Linked DNA regions of Homo sapiens: regions 1, 3, 4 and 5 are each linked to region 2. The links are contacts of gene promoters, found by promoter capture Hi-C in human tissues and cell types (Jung and others, 2019). All regions are on one chromosome and are shown on one strand. The core of a region is centred on a gene start or on the middle of the fragment in contact, and the rest is flanking DNA. Distances in the headings are between cores, read along the strand shown. Region 1 has its middle 5.4 kb from the start of FGF23. Region 2 holds the start of DYRK4 (dual specificity tyrosine phosphorylation regulated kinase 4). Region 3 overlaps TIGAR (TP53 induced glycolysis regulatory phosphatase). Region 4 has its middle 11 kb from the start of TIGAR. Region 5 overlaps GALNT8 (polypeptide N-acetylgalactosaminyltransferase 8).

Region 1 (2,700 bases), core at 17-2,516, 180 kb before region 2:
CTTAGTATAGATAAGGGCCTATAAGAATCTGTATTCCGGCTGGGCGCAGTGGCTCATGCCTGTAATCCCAGCACTTTGGGAGGCTGAGGCGGGCAGATCACCTGAGGTCAGGAATTTGAGATCAGCCTGGGCAACATGGTGAAACCCTGTCTCTACAAAAATACAAAAATTAGCCGAGCATGAGTGCGTGCCTCTCGAGCGTGCTGCTCGAGAGGCTGAGGCAGGAGAATTGCTCGAACCTGGGAGGCAGAGGTTGCAGTGAGCTGAGATTGCACCACTGCACTCCATCCTGGGTGACAGAATAAGACCCTGTCAAAAAAAAAAAAAAAAGTATTCCTGCAAGTTCATTACTTTCCTTCATCTCCTGACTTCTTTTTATCAGCATCTGCTCTGAGAAGGTACTGAAGAAGATTCTCACCCAGATCATGTTCACTCAAAGTAAAGACTGGGCAATAATTTTCAAACAATAACATCAACTTCATTGTCCTTAGCTATGATGAAAAAATGTCAGAGGAATCAAGGTAAAAAAAAAAGCTGGGAGATAGGAGAGAAGGTGATCTCACGGTGGCTTGCAGCCTTCTTTTCTTTTTGAGATCCTGGAAGGACCTGGCAGGCCTCTGCTCCCTGTCCCTTCACTCCTCCTGAGTCTGTCTCCACCATTTCAGTAACGGTGTCCCTGCCCTCTTGCTTTCTCAGAGCATTACATGTCGTCCAGACCTCCAGCGTTCAGGGAGATGGATATCTAAGCCATCTAGAACAAAAATTTTTTTTTTTTGGCTTCTTGAAGTTCTCTGGAGAGGTGCCATTCCTGTATCTCATCTGAAAATGTCATCCCAGTGTCATCTTGACAGCAAAAATGTGCTTCCCTATAGCCAATCTGATTCTCTCTTGCTTTAATGCATCCAAGCAATCAACACATAACTTTTTATGGAAAGCCTGTTATATGGCTACTACCTTGTAGAAAATCTTTAGAGAAGTCTGAGAATGAAAAGGTACAGTCCTGATCTTCAGGGAATTTGCAATCTACTAGGCAGAATATTCTTTGTATTTGTCTAGCACTTCACAGCCCATAAAGTACACTCATATCTATTGTCTCTTCTGAGGCTCAAAACAGTCCTATGGGCAGGTCTGGGGGGTGTCGGGGACGACTTTCCCAAGAGCATCCTGGCTCCTGATACACACATTCTGTTATCGTAGGAATTTAAAGAAAAGAGAGAAAAAAAACATGACTTTAAAAAATCTGTTTTTATTAAAAAGTAGATCAATGCAGAAATGTATGAAGTAGAAAGTGAATATACAATATAGTTTGTAACCTCTAGAGGTAAAATGTTATCAAAGACAAATTATAGCTTTAGGGCATATATATAAAATATATATTATATTTAATATAATAAAATACATTAATATATTGCCAATAATACATGTTAATAAAATATATAATGTATTAATAAATATTTAATAAAATATGTATATATTTATATTTATGTATTTCTAAATAGGTACATATTTAACATTATATATTAATACTAAAGTGTATATTATATATAAGTATATATATTTAAATATGCACTTTTATTTTAAAATTTAAAAAAAATTTTGCATCTATCAGCCAGAAAAATACGCACTTTTAAAAGACAAAATTGAGGGCATACCGTATATAATATATACCCACTTTGTCCGCTGAAGTCTATTTTGACCACCTTTCCAGGTCAGTATGCATATCTTTACCTCATTCTTTTAAATTATTCCATTCCATTGTATTTGAAAGTGGTCAGCTCTTCTGAAAGCTTCATTTCCTTCCAAGCTCTGCCCCAGAGGCTTTTGTGGTGGTTCCCAAGGCCACAGGACTTTATGTTTACATGTATGTGTATATACACATACACACCCATTATATACATGTGCATACATACATATAAACAGATACATACACACATATACATATAATAATGGCCCTGCATGGGATGGCACTGGTGGCTGGGGTTACCGCAGTTCTCTGCCACATCAAGAACTTACCCCCTTTTAGTCTAGAACCAATACCTCCCATAGAATCAGTCTCCAGTTCCCTTCTTTCCCTCCAAATGACATGTTCAATTTCTCCTCCCCAAGACAAAATTTCCAGCTTATTTTTGTCATGGCAGCCTTTCCAAAATAAAGGCCCACGGGAGGGCTTGTCTTCAGGGCAGCCTTCTCCAATGGGCAAGGAAGCCTGGAATTCCAGCAGCGGGGGGACATCAAGGCTTGGAAAGGGGTTTGAATCCACAGAAGATGTAGCGGTGCTTCTCCACGGTTCAGCTGTGATAGTTTTCACTTCTGCCACTATGGCCAATAAATCTCCACACTTGCAGTGATCTCATAAAGACCACACTTGTTAATTTATAAATATGGCCACTGATAGCTGGTAATGACTGCTGATGACAAGGTGACAAGGATGGGCATAGAAGTGCTATTTACCGAAGCCTTTGGAAAATAAGCTACGATTTTCAAACGTGTAATATAAAATTTGCAACCTATTTTGAACTTAATACAGAGCATAAAGTTTTTATAAGAATAGGAAATGTTTGAGGGTATTTAAATATGCATATCTGAGTGTTTATTTATTTAGAAGTTTAAAGTCGTTCAAAAGTATAAAACAGCTATGCTGAGTATCAGAATTCTGAAGAACATTAGAAGAGAGAGGGTAACTGAAAAGAAACTGATGCA
Region 2 (2,893 bases), core at 204-2,703:
CATCACTGCAGGTGCCAAAGGTGTCATCCTGGGATTGAGTCTTCTCTCGACTTTCACATCCAGTCACCAAGTCTTACTCCATTTCCTAAATTTCTCAAAACTACTCTTCCATGTGCTCTCCCTTACTCTGAAACATCATCACTCACTATTTCTAACAGGCATCCTTGCCTTGATTCTTAACCTACTCGGGCCTACTTCCATTGTTATTGCCACAGAGGGTTTTATAAAATAAAGTCAGCATGAACACCCCTCTGCAGTCTGCACATACACACCTTACCCTGGTCGAGTTCATAGCCTACTTGGTGTCTGACTCCCCCTTTCCTGCTGCTTCAACCTTGTCTCTGCCCACGTGCAACTTTGATCCCTGCCCCACTAAACTGGGTGCTGGCACAATGGTACCAAGCTTTTCTATGGCTCTGGCCTTCAGAATAGGACTTGCCTCCTTTACGTAGACAACTACTGCCTGTCCTTGAAGACTCAGATTCAACTCAGCTCTTTCAGAAAGCTTCATTTGAATGTCTTTTCTGCCTGGACCAGACTGTGCACCTCCAGGTCAACCTACTGCCACTCAATTACAAATTTCCCTTTTCATGCTTTCTACAATCTGGTGCAGAGTAAGCACTCAAAAAGTGTTCAGCTGATATATGGATTTTACCCAGAACTTTTGCTATGTACTTACTTTTTTTCTTTTTCTTTTTCTTTTTTTCTTTTTTTTTTTTTTTTTTGAGATGCAGTCTCGTTCTGTCGCCAGGCTGGAGTGCAGTGGCGCGATCTCGGCTCACTGCAACCTCCGCCTCCCGGGTTCCAGCGATTCTCCTGCCTCAGCCTCCCAAGTAGCTGGGACTACAGGCACGCACCACCACGCCCCGCTTATTTTTGTATTTTTAGTAGAGACGGGGTTTCACCATGTTGGCCAGGATGGTCTTGATCTCTTGGCCTCGTGATCCACCCGCCTTGGCCTCTCAAAGTGCTGGGATTACAGAAAAAAATGTCTAAATAGAGACAGGGGCGGGGGGGTCTCACTACTTTGAGCAGTTTGGTCTCGAACTCCAGACCTCAAGTGGTCTGCCTAGGCCTCCCAAAGTGCTGGGATTGCAGGTGTAAAACCACCGCGCCCGGCCAGAACTTCTGTGATGTAATTCTGATAACCACATGCTTCGCTTGAAGAAGGGGAGAGAGTAGGGATAATTTCATGTGTCCGGTCTGGGCAACCAACTTTAAGTTCTTTATGCTGGGATTTTGTTCAATTCTTGCCCTATACTTTAAAGAACTGGGGCAAGAGAATGCGAGTAGGAGGACGAGGAGTATGTTCTTCAGGCTGCTACTCTGCAAGGTGGTTTGGGACCACAGCCTGAGAAAGCCCTTCCAGCTCTGGAGTCATAAAAAGGGCGGGAGCCGTTTCTATAGCGACGGGAGGAGGGCGTGGCCGTCCCTTGCCCTCTGCCGGGCTCTCACAGCCTCCCGCAGCGGCGGGCGGTCAGCGCCGGCCTCATGCAGCTCCTCCCGCCGCCTATCCGCACCGGAACAAAGTAAGGGCCGCGGAGGCTCGTACTTCACGAGCAGTCAGGCGCGAGTACGAGGCAGGCGACGAAGCTTCTGGTCGACGGGGTCGTGGGGGGAGAATGAAAAGCGTGCAGAATGCAAGAGCTGACCGGGGAATGTGGGTCAGAGAGAGGCGGGCTGTGGTGCGCGGACAAGAAAATACAGTTGTAGTTTTTGCAGCAGCTGCATCCCCGGAATCCGACGTCAGTATACTTCCATGTTAAGATGCTGTCGCATCGGCGACTCCAGCTGAGTGCAGGACAGGGAGCGAGGGGTTCTGAGGAACTCAGCAGACCTATCCTGGAACTGTGCTTCCAGCCCTCACTGGGACGCCAGACTTTCTTCCTCCCTTTCTTTCTCTTCTTTACTGCATGTCCTCTTGGTAGTCGTAAGTGGGTCCACGACCACACGCCTCGCGTGGATGAGGCTCTGGCAGGCATTACTCATGTTCCCACCCAGCCCATATGCCCGGGCACCTCTGTGCTCAACCAGGGCCCAGCCCCTGACACAAAAGCGCGCGAAGGTGTGTGTAGATCACACACCCAGAGCTGCCACTCAGGAAATTCCCAATATTAGCAAATCTTTCCTTAAAAAAGAGATGAACAATGCACAATTTGAGGGTTTTTAAAGGCTATTCTGTGACATTTGCTGCATTTGAAATGTCCAGCAGCCCCTCAAAGCTTAGGAAAACCGTGACCCCTCTGACATGTCTTAAGCAACGGACAGCATCACCAATATTAATTCAAGCTTCACTGTCCAGGCTTAAGTGGAGACTCGGCAAAAGCAGGAGGCCATTTAGTGGAAAAGTTCAAACCGTGGAAACAACAAATGAAAATGTCCTTTGTCTTGCTTGAGCGATTTGATCACCTACATGTGGTCGGTATGTAAAACCTAGGAGTTCGAAGAAATTCTTCAAACATGCACTCTACCTTATTGTTTCTGTTACTTAAATCTGTTGTTTCTCTTGTTTGTTTTGGTCCTTATGGAGAAAGCAGAGGTAAATCGGAAGGGACTCTCTAGCAATATGCCAGCCACTCTTCCCTGACTTTGCCCTCTCCAACTCCACATATTGTTGCCTGCAACTTGGCTAGAATGCATAGTCCTCAAGCGTGTGGAGGACCCAGTGCTGGGATTTAGTGGTTTTAGCTGACTCTAAGCCCATCGTGAGTGTGTTGTGATGGCTCCCCAAAGAGCAAATGCTGGTGGAGGCTGCATTCATAGAAATGCAATGACCACATCAAAGAATATGGTCGTGCTGCCTGACTTAGCAATGAGTAGAACATAATCCAGACTCTAGAAACTGTAGCTACTTTGAGATCACAAAGAACTGGAAAATAGGAACAACCACAAG
Region 3 (2,885 bases), core at 163-2,662, 230 kb before region 2:
TCCCAAAGTGCTGGGATTACAGGCATGAGCCACTGCATGTGGCCTAGGTAATCTTTTATTAATATTAACAACAATGATAATGGCAAATCAGTGCTGTTGGTTTTTTACCAAGGTATAAATAGTTCCATGTATTTTTTTTTTTTTTTGGAGACAGAGTCTTGCTCTGTTGCCCAGGCTGAAGTGCAGTGGCATGATCTTGGCTCACTGCAACCTCCACCTCCCAGGTTCAAGCGATTCTTCTGCCTCAGCCTCCCGAGTAGCTGGGACTACAGGCACTCACCACCATGCCTGGCTGATTTTTGTATTTTTATCAGAGACGGAGTTTCACCTTGTTGGCCAGGCTGGTCCCGAACTCCTGACCTCGTGATCTGCCCACCTCGGCCTCCCAAAGTGCTGGGATTACAGGCGTGAGCCACCGTGCCTGGCCAGTTCTGTGTAATTTTATTTCTTTATCATACGTTTATTTTTTAAGCTAATACATCTACATATTTAGAAATCAAAACAATTCTCCGTAGTCTTCCTATTCTTCCCCCAACCAATAGGTGGCCACATTTATTAGTTTCATGTTTATCCTTCCATTGTTTCTTTGTGCAGATCCAGATGTTTATTTCCCTCCTTTCTAAAAGGGTAGCTTTCTTTTTATATTACTCTATACCCTGCTTTTTCTACTTAATCATATATCTTGGTGAGCATTCCATATCTTTACATATAATCTCTCTCTTTAAAGGACACATTTACATAGGATTCCATTAGGTAGATATGTCACTGTTTATTTGTTAATATAAATAATGGTTATTCTGGCCATAGTTAAGGAATGAGTTATGGACATTTGGGTTGTTTATAATCTGTTGCTATTAGAAATAATACTGTAGCTAATGATCTTTTTTTTTTTTTTTTTTTTTTTTTTGTGAGACAGGGTCTTGCTCTCTCACCCATACTGGAGTGCAGTGGTGTGATTGCAGCTCACTGCAACCTCTGCCTCCCGGGTTTAAACAATTCTTGTGCCTCAGTCTCCCGAGTAGCTGGGATTACAGACGCCCGCCACCACGCATGGCTAAATTTTGTATTTTTAGTAGAGATGGGGTTTCATCATCTTGGCCATGCTGGGCTTGAACTCCTGACATCGTGATCTACCCACCTCGGACTCCCAATGTGCTGGAATTACGGGCATGAGCCACCACGTCTGGCCACAAATAATCTTTTAAATATGAGTGAATTCAGTTATTCCCAGTAATTGGGTTATTGGATAAAAGGGTAAACAGATTTGTCATTTTGATAGGTATTTCCAGATGACCCTCCCTAGGTAAAAGCACATTCACTGAAGTTCTGTCATTTCCCAGCATTTTCTCCAGGCCCTGGGCATGTTGAGGGTATGCAATCCCTGCTTGTGCCTTTAAGGAACTGGAGCCAGGATAGACACAGAGCTAAAAAGTCAATTAGCACACAGATGAAAACTTATGTTGGTAGTGCCAGGGGACCATGGGAGTATAGAGTGTGGGTATTAAATAGAGTAGGTAGATGGGGAATGGTACTGGGGAGGGAGACTACCTAAAAGAACCAGTCTTGTGTTGGGTCTTAAAGAACATTCATATTGGCCAAATCCAGCAATCTGTATCTTGGCAGAGGTTGGCATACAGCTGTTTTTGTAAACAAGCGGCAAGATTCCAGGATGAGGCCTGAGTTTGTGATTCTGACTTCCAGGTCTGGTAGATTTTTTTTTCTAGATCTGAGTAAATCAGTCCTATGTGACATTTTAATTATTATAAACTAGTGCTTCACTTAAAAACAATGGAGCGATCATTTTCCATCGAAATCAAGGAAATGCAAATTAAAATTAAAGTGAGATGAATTGTTCAGGTACCAGATTGGTACAAATTGAAGAAACCTTCCATCACTGAATCTTGTTGAGGGTGGTACACCACACTACAGGGTGGTGTAACCTGCTATGACACTGGCATTACCTAATAAAGCTGGTATTTGCATACCTTATGGCCCAGCAATTCTAGTGGTAGGTTGGGTCAGCAAACATTTAATTAGTGCTCAAAGAAATTTCAGCTGAATTCTCTTTGATTCTACTTTTCATGTATTTGAAAGTTGCATTATTGTTAACCTATCCTGCTGTCTGTCCAGTCTTGCCCATGCACTTCCCGCCCTTTTCCCCCTCCAGCCTCAGTAACCCCAGTTATTTTCTGACAAAGTTTCCAGTTCTTTTACCCTTCCGGTTGGTTCAGATTGCTTTGATTTGTTTTGGTATTTTAGTTTTTAAAAGTGTAGTACTCAAACCTCAGTTCAGTGTGCAGTTAGTTGGTCTGCGAGATAGCTGTCAGTACTACAAAAAATAACTGCTGAAGACCTAGGAACTAAGAGAAGGCAGGGGGTTCTGAAGGTTTGTGCACGTCTCTCCCATTCCATTCAGATTCTCTTTCACTTGCTCATTCAGTCCAGCAATGAATAGACTGACTCTCACGTTTTTGTTCCTGCTGCCAGTAAGAGTAGTTTTGATCAATATATTTCTTTTAACAAAATTATTTGGCTGAAATGTTATTTGCATTATATTTTTTAGTAGGATTTTCCACCTGCAATTCACTTAAGATTGGTTCCTGATCTACACGTTTTAGTTTGGAGTAGTTTGAAATTCTTAGCTCTTCATTAAAGAAGACAATTGCAAATATTAGTTTAGAATAAATTGTTTTTACAGGTTGGATTATGAAGTGTGTTACAAGTTTCACATGATATTTTTAGAGTATCACCACACTTGATTGCTCATTTTTTTCCTCCTCTCAAAAACAGTATAATTTGGCTAATAAGGTTGTCCTTCTCTTTCTATTTTAGTGGAGAAACAAGATTTAACAAGGAGAAAATAATCCAAGGTTGGTATAATCCGA
Region 4 (2,700 bases), core at 143-2,642, 250 kb before region 2:
TTCTTTCAGTTTGTGGACCATAACCTCTCCTTCTCAGACGAAGAAAGACCGTACTGCCTCAGTAAGCATTAAGATCTCTTTATGTCTTTATGAGTTTTTAGTTATCAGATTACCCCGGGGCTGGGCCAGATTTTTGAAATTCCTTTGAGATCCCAACATTCAGCCCCACGCCCAGGTCTGCAGGTAGGCCCAAATAAGGTGGGGTGGTAAAGATCTGCTTTTTGTTTTTTGGTTTTCTTTTCTTTTGTTTCTGGAGATAGGGTCTTCCTTTGTCTCTGAGGCTAGAGGGCAGTGGCGTGATCACAACTCACTGCAGCCTCAACTTCCCAGGCTCAAGTGATCCTCCCACCTCAGCCTCCCAAGTAGCTGGGACAACAGGCATGCACCACTACATCTAGATTGTTTTAAAAAATGTGTTATAGAAACAGTGTCTCACTATGTTGCCCTGGCTGCTCTCAAACTTTGGGCCTCAAAAGATCCTTCCCACCTCAGCCTCCCAAAGTGCTGGGTTACAGGTGTGAGCCACTGTGTCCAGACAGCTTTTCCTGCTTTTGTTTGTCTGGAGAGTCATTTTTAGTGCTCCTGGCACCATGGAGATTCCATGAGAAGACAAACCTGTGAGATTTCTATATTTGTTGAAAAAGTGCAAATCTCTGTGGCTATGTTTCGGTCAACCCATTCACTGAAAATCGCTACTCTTCATCATCCCCTTCCCACACAGGGCTCCTGGGCACTGCTCGTTTATTCAACAAATGAGGGCTGGGTACGTGCCTGGTGCTCCGTATGGGACCCCTCATTCAACAAATGTGTCTCAGTACTTGCTTTTCCAGGGATGAGATCTCTGCTCTCCTTGATCTCAAAGGCTAAAGACAGAGACAGATAAAAAGACAACTGCTACTTGGTGGTTGGCCCAGAATACAAGTGCTCTATGCTCTGCTCTGGAATGCCCCCCCGGCCACCCACTCGCTTTGTAACCTTGGGCTCATTACTTAGCCACCCAGCAACTCACAGTAAACTCAGTGACTTAGTTTTTTCATCTGTGAAATGGGGTTTTGTAGTTTTGAAAGAGCTTTCCACAAGCCTCTCCTATAATCCTTTTATAACTCTGGTGAATTTGGTACCTTGTTTTGTAGCTAAGTGAATGGAGGGTCACACGGCTCACTTGGCTTATCACAAAGAGTTAGGCTAGGACTGGATCCCAGATGTGTCTGAATTCAAATATCATGCATCTTCTGCTACACTGGGCTACTTTATTGATCCATATTTTGCTTACTGAGCATTGAGCTGAAAGAGTGAGACTTTTAGCCCAGTGTGGGCAGGAAGGTTGCAGGGGGTGGGGGGGGTTGGATGATGACATCACTTAGTGAAATCATCAGGGGATAGTTTTTTAATGAAGACAAAGTCAATGAAGAAAGTAAAGGGCCTTGTCATCTAAGGAGGAGTTTGTCAGTGAATGTACACCAAGGAAGTAGCCTTTTCTTTCCAGCGTCTTTGCCTTGCCCCTTGGCTGTTCTTCATGCTCATTCCATTCAGGTTATAAATGCGTTGCTCATAAACTCCTGGGAAGGAGCCATGGGTTCTGCTTTCCTCCCAAATCCCCAAACCTATGTCAATTAAAACAAGAATCACAGCCAGGCGCGGTGGCTCACACCTGTAATCCCAGCACTCTGGGAGGCCGAGGTGGGCGGATCATGAGGTCAGGAGAACAAGACCATCCTGGCTAACATGGTGAAACCCCATCTCTACTAAAAATACAAAAAATTAGCTGGGCGTGGTGGCATGTGCCTGTAGTCCCAGCTACTCGGGAGGCTGAAGCAGGAGAATCACCCGAACCCAGGAGGCGGAGGTTGCATTCAGCCGAGATTGCGCCACTGCCCTCCAGCCCGGGTGACACAGCAAGATTCCATCTAAAAAAAAAAAACAAAAACAAACAAACAAACAAACAAACAAAATCACATATCTAGTTTGTCCCTATTCTTCAGGGACCCACGAATATCTGTGTTATTATTATTTCTCCCCCAACGCTCCCTCCTTCCCCCACCAAGCCCAGAGAATCTCAGTCCAGAGGCAGGGAAGCCTTGCTTGTATCATCAGCCTCCCAAGCCTTTGCTATTTAAAGATTCCTTTTGTTATCCTATAGGAAGAGATATTCTTTTTCTTGGTTTTTCGTGGCCACCTTCCTTGCCCCGAAAAAAGGGACACAGGAGGAAGGGCCCAAAAACGTAGAGGAAAAATACTGTAGGAAAAAATGCTGATTAATATTTCCAAAAATATTATTTTACCATGGATGCAATGGCCTGAGGCCCTGCAAGGGTGAATGCCACACTGAGGGTCACCCAGCAATGTACAAATGAACAATGAAGGACAACTGCTGGCCTCTGCAGGCTTCCATTCATTGCTCAGCTCTGTGAGCCTCTGGACATCTTGGTGAATACCCTCAGAAAATCTTGAAGCACCACAGGTTTTAAAAGCAGTCACTCACTTATGTTTTTCATATGTCACTGTAAGCTCATCATGAAGGGACTATGGAAGATTTGCTTCCATATGGCACTGCCTAGGTATTAGGGCCAGGACACCTAGGATTTTAGGGCCTAGCGGTCTTCTCTTTTCCTTAGCATTCTGTCAGGGCTCTGGCAAGAACAAGAGGATTGGCCTTTCTAGCCAATGTCCCCCCCAGTGCTTGCTACTTGCCTGGAATAT
Region 5 (2,933 bases), core at 96-2,595, 190 kb after region 2:
GTCTGTATAGTTTCCCAAATTTCTCTTGTTATTGATTTCTAGTTTTATTCCACTGTGGTCAGAGAAGATGCATGCGATTATTTTTATTTTTTGAATGTTTTAAGACTTGTTTGTGACCTAACATATGGTCTGTCCTTGAGAATGATCCATGTGCTGAGGAGAAGTGTATTCCGCAGCCACTGGATGAAATGTCTGTAAATATCTATTAGATACACTTTGTCTATAGTACAGATTAAGTCTGATGTTTCTTTGTTGATTTTCTGTCTGGAAGATCTGTCCAGTGCTGAAAATAGGATGTTAAAGTCTTCTGCTATTACTGTATTGGGGCCTATCTCTCTATTTAGCTCTAATAATATTTGCTTTATATATCTGGATGCTCCAGTGTTGGGTGCATATATATTTAAAATTGTTATAGCCTCTGGCTAAATTGACCCCTTTTTTATTATATAGTGACCTTCTTTGTCTCTTCTTATAGTTTTTGTCTTGAAATCTATTTTGCCTGATATAAATATAGCTACTCGGCTTTGTTTTGGTTTCCATTGGTATGGAATATCTTTTTCCATCCCTTTATTTTTAGTTTATGCGTGTTTTTATAGGTGAAGTATGTTTCTTATAGGCAACAGATCAGTGGGTCTTGTTTTTTCATTCATTTGGCCACTCTATGTCTTGATTGGAGAGTTAAGTCCATTTACATTCAATGTTATTATTGATAAGAAAGGACTTACTTCTGCTATTTTGTTATCTGTTTTCTGATTGTTTTGTGGTCTTTTCTTTCTTGTTTCTTCTCTTTCCTGTCTTCCTCTAGTGAAGGTGATTTTCTCTGTTGATATGATTTAGTTTCTTGCTTTTTATTTTTTTGTGTATCTGTTGTATGTTTTTTGGTTTGGGGTTTTCATGAGGCTTGCAATACTATCTTATCATCCATTATTTTAAGATGATGATGGCTTAACACTATTTGCATAAACAGACAACCAAACAATTGAAAAAAAAAAAAACTAATAAAAACTCTACACCTTGACTTTGTCCCCCCACTTTTTAACTTTTTGTTGTTTCTATTTATATCTTACTGTACTATGTCTTGAAAAGGTTTTGTAGTTATTATTGTTGATCGATTCATTATTTAGACTTTCTATTTAGGATAAGAGTAGTTTATACACCACAGTTACAGTGTTATAATATTCTGTGGTTTTCTGTGTACTGACTATCACCAGTGAATTTTATCCCTATAGATGATTACTTAGGGCTCATTAACATCCTTTTCTTTCTGACTGAAGTACTCCCTTTAGCATTTCTTGTAGGATTGGTCTGGTGTTGATGAAGTCTTTCAGCTTTTGTTTTTGTGGGAAAGTCTTTATTTCTCCTTCATGTCTGAAGGATATTTTCACTGTATATGTTGTTCTAGGGTAAAAGTTTTTTCCTTCAACACTTTACATATGTCATGTCACTCTCTCCTGGCCTGTAAGGTTTCCATGGAAAAGTCTGCTGCCAGAAAGTATGGGAGCTGCATTGTACGTTGTCCTCTTGCTGCTTTTAGCATCCTTTCTTTATCCTTGATCTTTGGGAGTTTGATTATTAAATGCCTTGAGGTAGTTTTCTTTGGGTTAAATCTGCTTAGTGTTCTGTAACATTCTTGTACTTGGACATTGATATCTTTCTCTAGGTTTGGGAAGTTCTGTGTTGTTATCCCTTTGAATAAACTTTCTACCCCTATCTCTTTCTCTACCTCCTCTTTCAGGCCTGTAACTCTTACATTTTTCCTTTTGAGGCTATTTTCTAGATGCTGTAGGCGTGCTTCATTGCTTTGTATTCTTTTTTCTTTTGTCTCCTCTGACTATGTATTTTACAAATAGCCTGTCCTCAAGCTTACTGATTCTCCCTTCTGTTTGACCAATTCTGCTATTAAAAGATACTGGTGCATTCTTCAGTATGCCAGTTGCATTTATCAGCTCCAGAATTTCTGCTTGATTGTTTTTTATTATTTCCATCTCATTGTTAAATTTATCTGATAGAATTCTGAATTCCTTCTCTAATTATCTTGAATTTCTTTGAGTTTCCTCAAAACAGCTATTTTGAATTTTCCATCTGAAAGGTCCCTTGTCTCTGTTTCTCTAGGATTGGTCCCTTCATTCATTTGGTGAGATGATGTTTTCCTGAATTATCTTGATACTTGTAAATGTTCTTCTGTGTCTGAGCATTGAAGAGTTAGTCTACTTATTCTAAGTAAAGACTACTTATTGTAGTCTTTACTGTCTAGGCTTGTTTGTACCCATCCTTCTTGGGAAGGCTTTCCAGATATTCAAAAAGACATGGGTGTTATGGTCTAAGCTGTACCTGCTTTAGGGGGCACCCCAAGCCCAGTAATGCTGTGGTTCTTCCAGACTCATAGAAGTACCACCTTGATGGTCTTGGATAAGATCCGGGAGAATCCTGTGGATTACCAGGCAGAGACCCTTGTTCTCTTCCCTTACGTCTCCCAAACAAATGGAGTCTATCTCTCTTTCTGTTCTGAGCTACCTAAAGCTGGGGGTGGAGTGACACAAGCAACCCCGTGACCACCGCCACTGTGACTGCTCTGGGTCAGACCTGAAGGTAGCACAGAACTGGGTCTCACTCAAGGCCTGCTGTAACCACTCACTGTGTACTTCCTATGTTCCCTTGAGACCCTGGTGCTCTACAATCAGTAGGTGGCAAAGCCAGGACACAGGACACAGGCCTGTGTCCTTCCTTTCGGGGCCGTGTGTTCCTCCAGGTCCCAAGTGGGTCCAGAGGTGCTGTCTGGCAGTCAGACACTAAAGTAAAATACCTTAAAAGTCTACCTCATGTTTTATTATATTGTGACTGAGCTTGACTGAGCTGGCACTCAAACCACAAGACACACTTCTTCCCACTCTTCCCTCCTCTTTCCAAAGTTAGAGGCCAGTGCCACCACAGAC

Evidence for each region. Contacts are between HindIII fragments. The study calls those that stand out against the background at their distance.
Region 1: a contact is called between a fragment that was not itself captured here and the fragment with the promoter of DYRK4 in region 2, in 4 of the 25 tissues and cell types used here (H1 embryonic stem cells, mesendoderm cells, neural progenitor cells and 1 more).
Region 3: a contact is called between a fragment that was not itself captured here and the fragment with the promoter of DYRK4 in region 2, in 1 of the 25 tissues and cell types used here (dorsolateral prefrontal cortex).
Region 4: a fragment that was not itself captured here is called in contact with the fragment with the promoter of DYRK4 in region 2 in 1 of the 25 tissues and cell types used here (mesendoderm cells).
Region 5: a contact is called between a fragment that was not itself captured here and the fragment with the promoter of DYRK4 in region 2, in 1 of the 25 tissues and cell types used here (H1 embryonic stem cells).

What each region holds. Positions count from the first base shown.
Region 1 is chr12:4,383,792-4,386,491 of GRCh38, forward strand. No RefSeq gene overlaps it. Among named protein-coding and RNA genes, the nearest start is that of FGF23, 5.4 kb to the left of the region's middle. The HindIII fragment of the contact is 5,845 bases long and covers 1-2,700 here.
Region 2 is chr12:4,560,755-4,563,647 of GRCh38, forward strand. It overlaps DYRK4 (dual specificity tyrosine phosphorylation regulated kinase 4), which reads left to right and starts at 1,454. Exons shown (of 15, transcript NM_001394779.1): 1 at 1,454-1,529. The coding sequence starts at 1,492. RefSeq lists a silencer at 1,289-1,583. The HindIII fragment of the contact is 2,169 bases long and covers 1-1,907 here.
Region 3 is chr12:4,328,448-4,331,332 of GRCh38, forward strand. It overlaps TIGAR (TP53 induced glycolysis regulatory phosphatase), which reads left to right. Exons shown (of 6, transcript NM_020375.3): 2 at 2,833-2,870. Among named protein-coding and RNA genes, the nearest start is that of TIGAR, 8.7 kb to the left of the region's middle. The HindIII fragment of the contact is 8,404 bases long and covers 1-2,885 here.
Region 4 is chr12:4,308,696-4,311,395 of GRCh38, forward strand. No RefSeq gene overlaps it. Among named protein-coding and RNA genes, the nearest start is that of TIGAR, 11 kb to the right of the region's middle. The HindIII fragment of the contact is 5,918 bases long and covers 1-2,700 here.
Region 5 is chr12:4,751,553-4,754,485 of GRCh38, forward strand. The region is part of intron 6 of GALNT8 (polypeptide N-acetylgalactosaminyltransferase 8); the gene reads left to right. Among named protein-coding and RNA genes, the nearest start is that of GALNT8, 33 kb to the left of the region's middle. The HindIII fragment of the contact is 4,171 bases long and covers 1-2,933 here.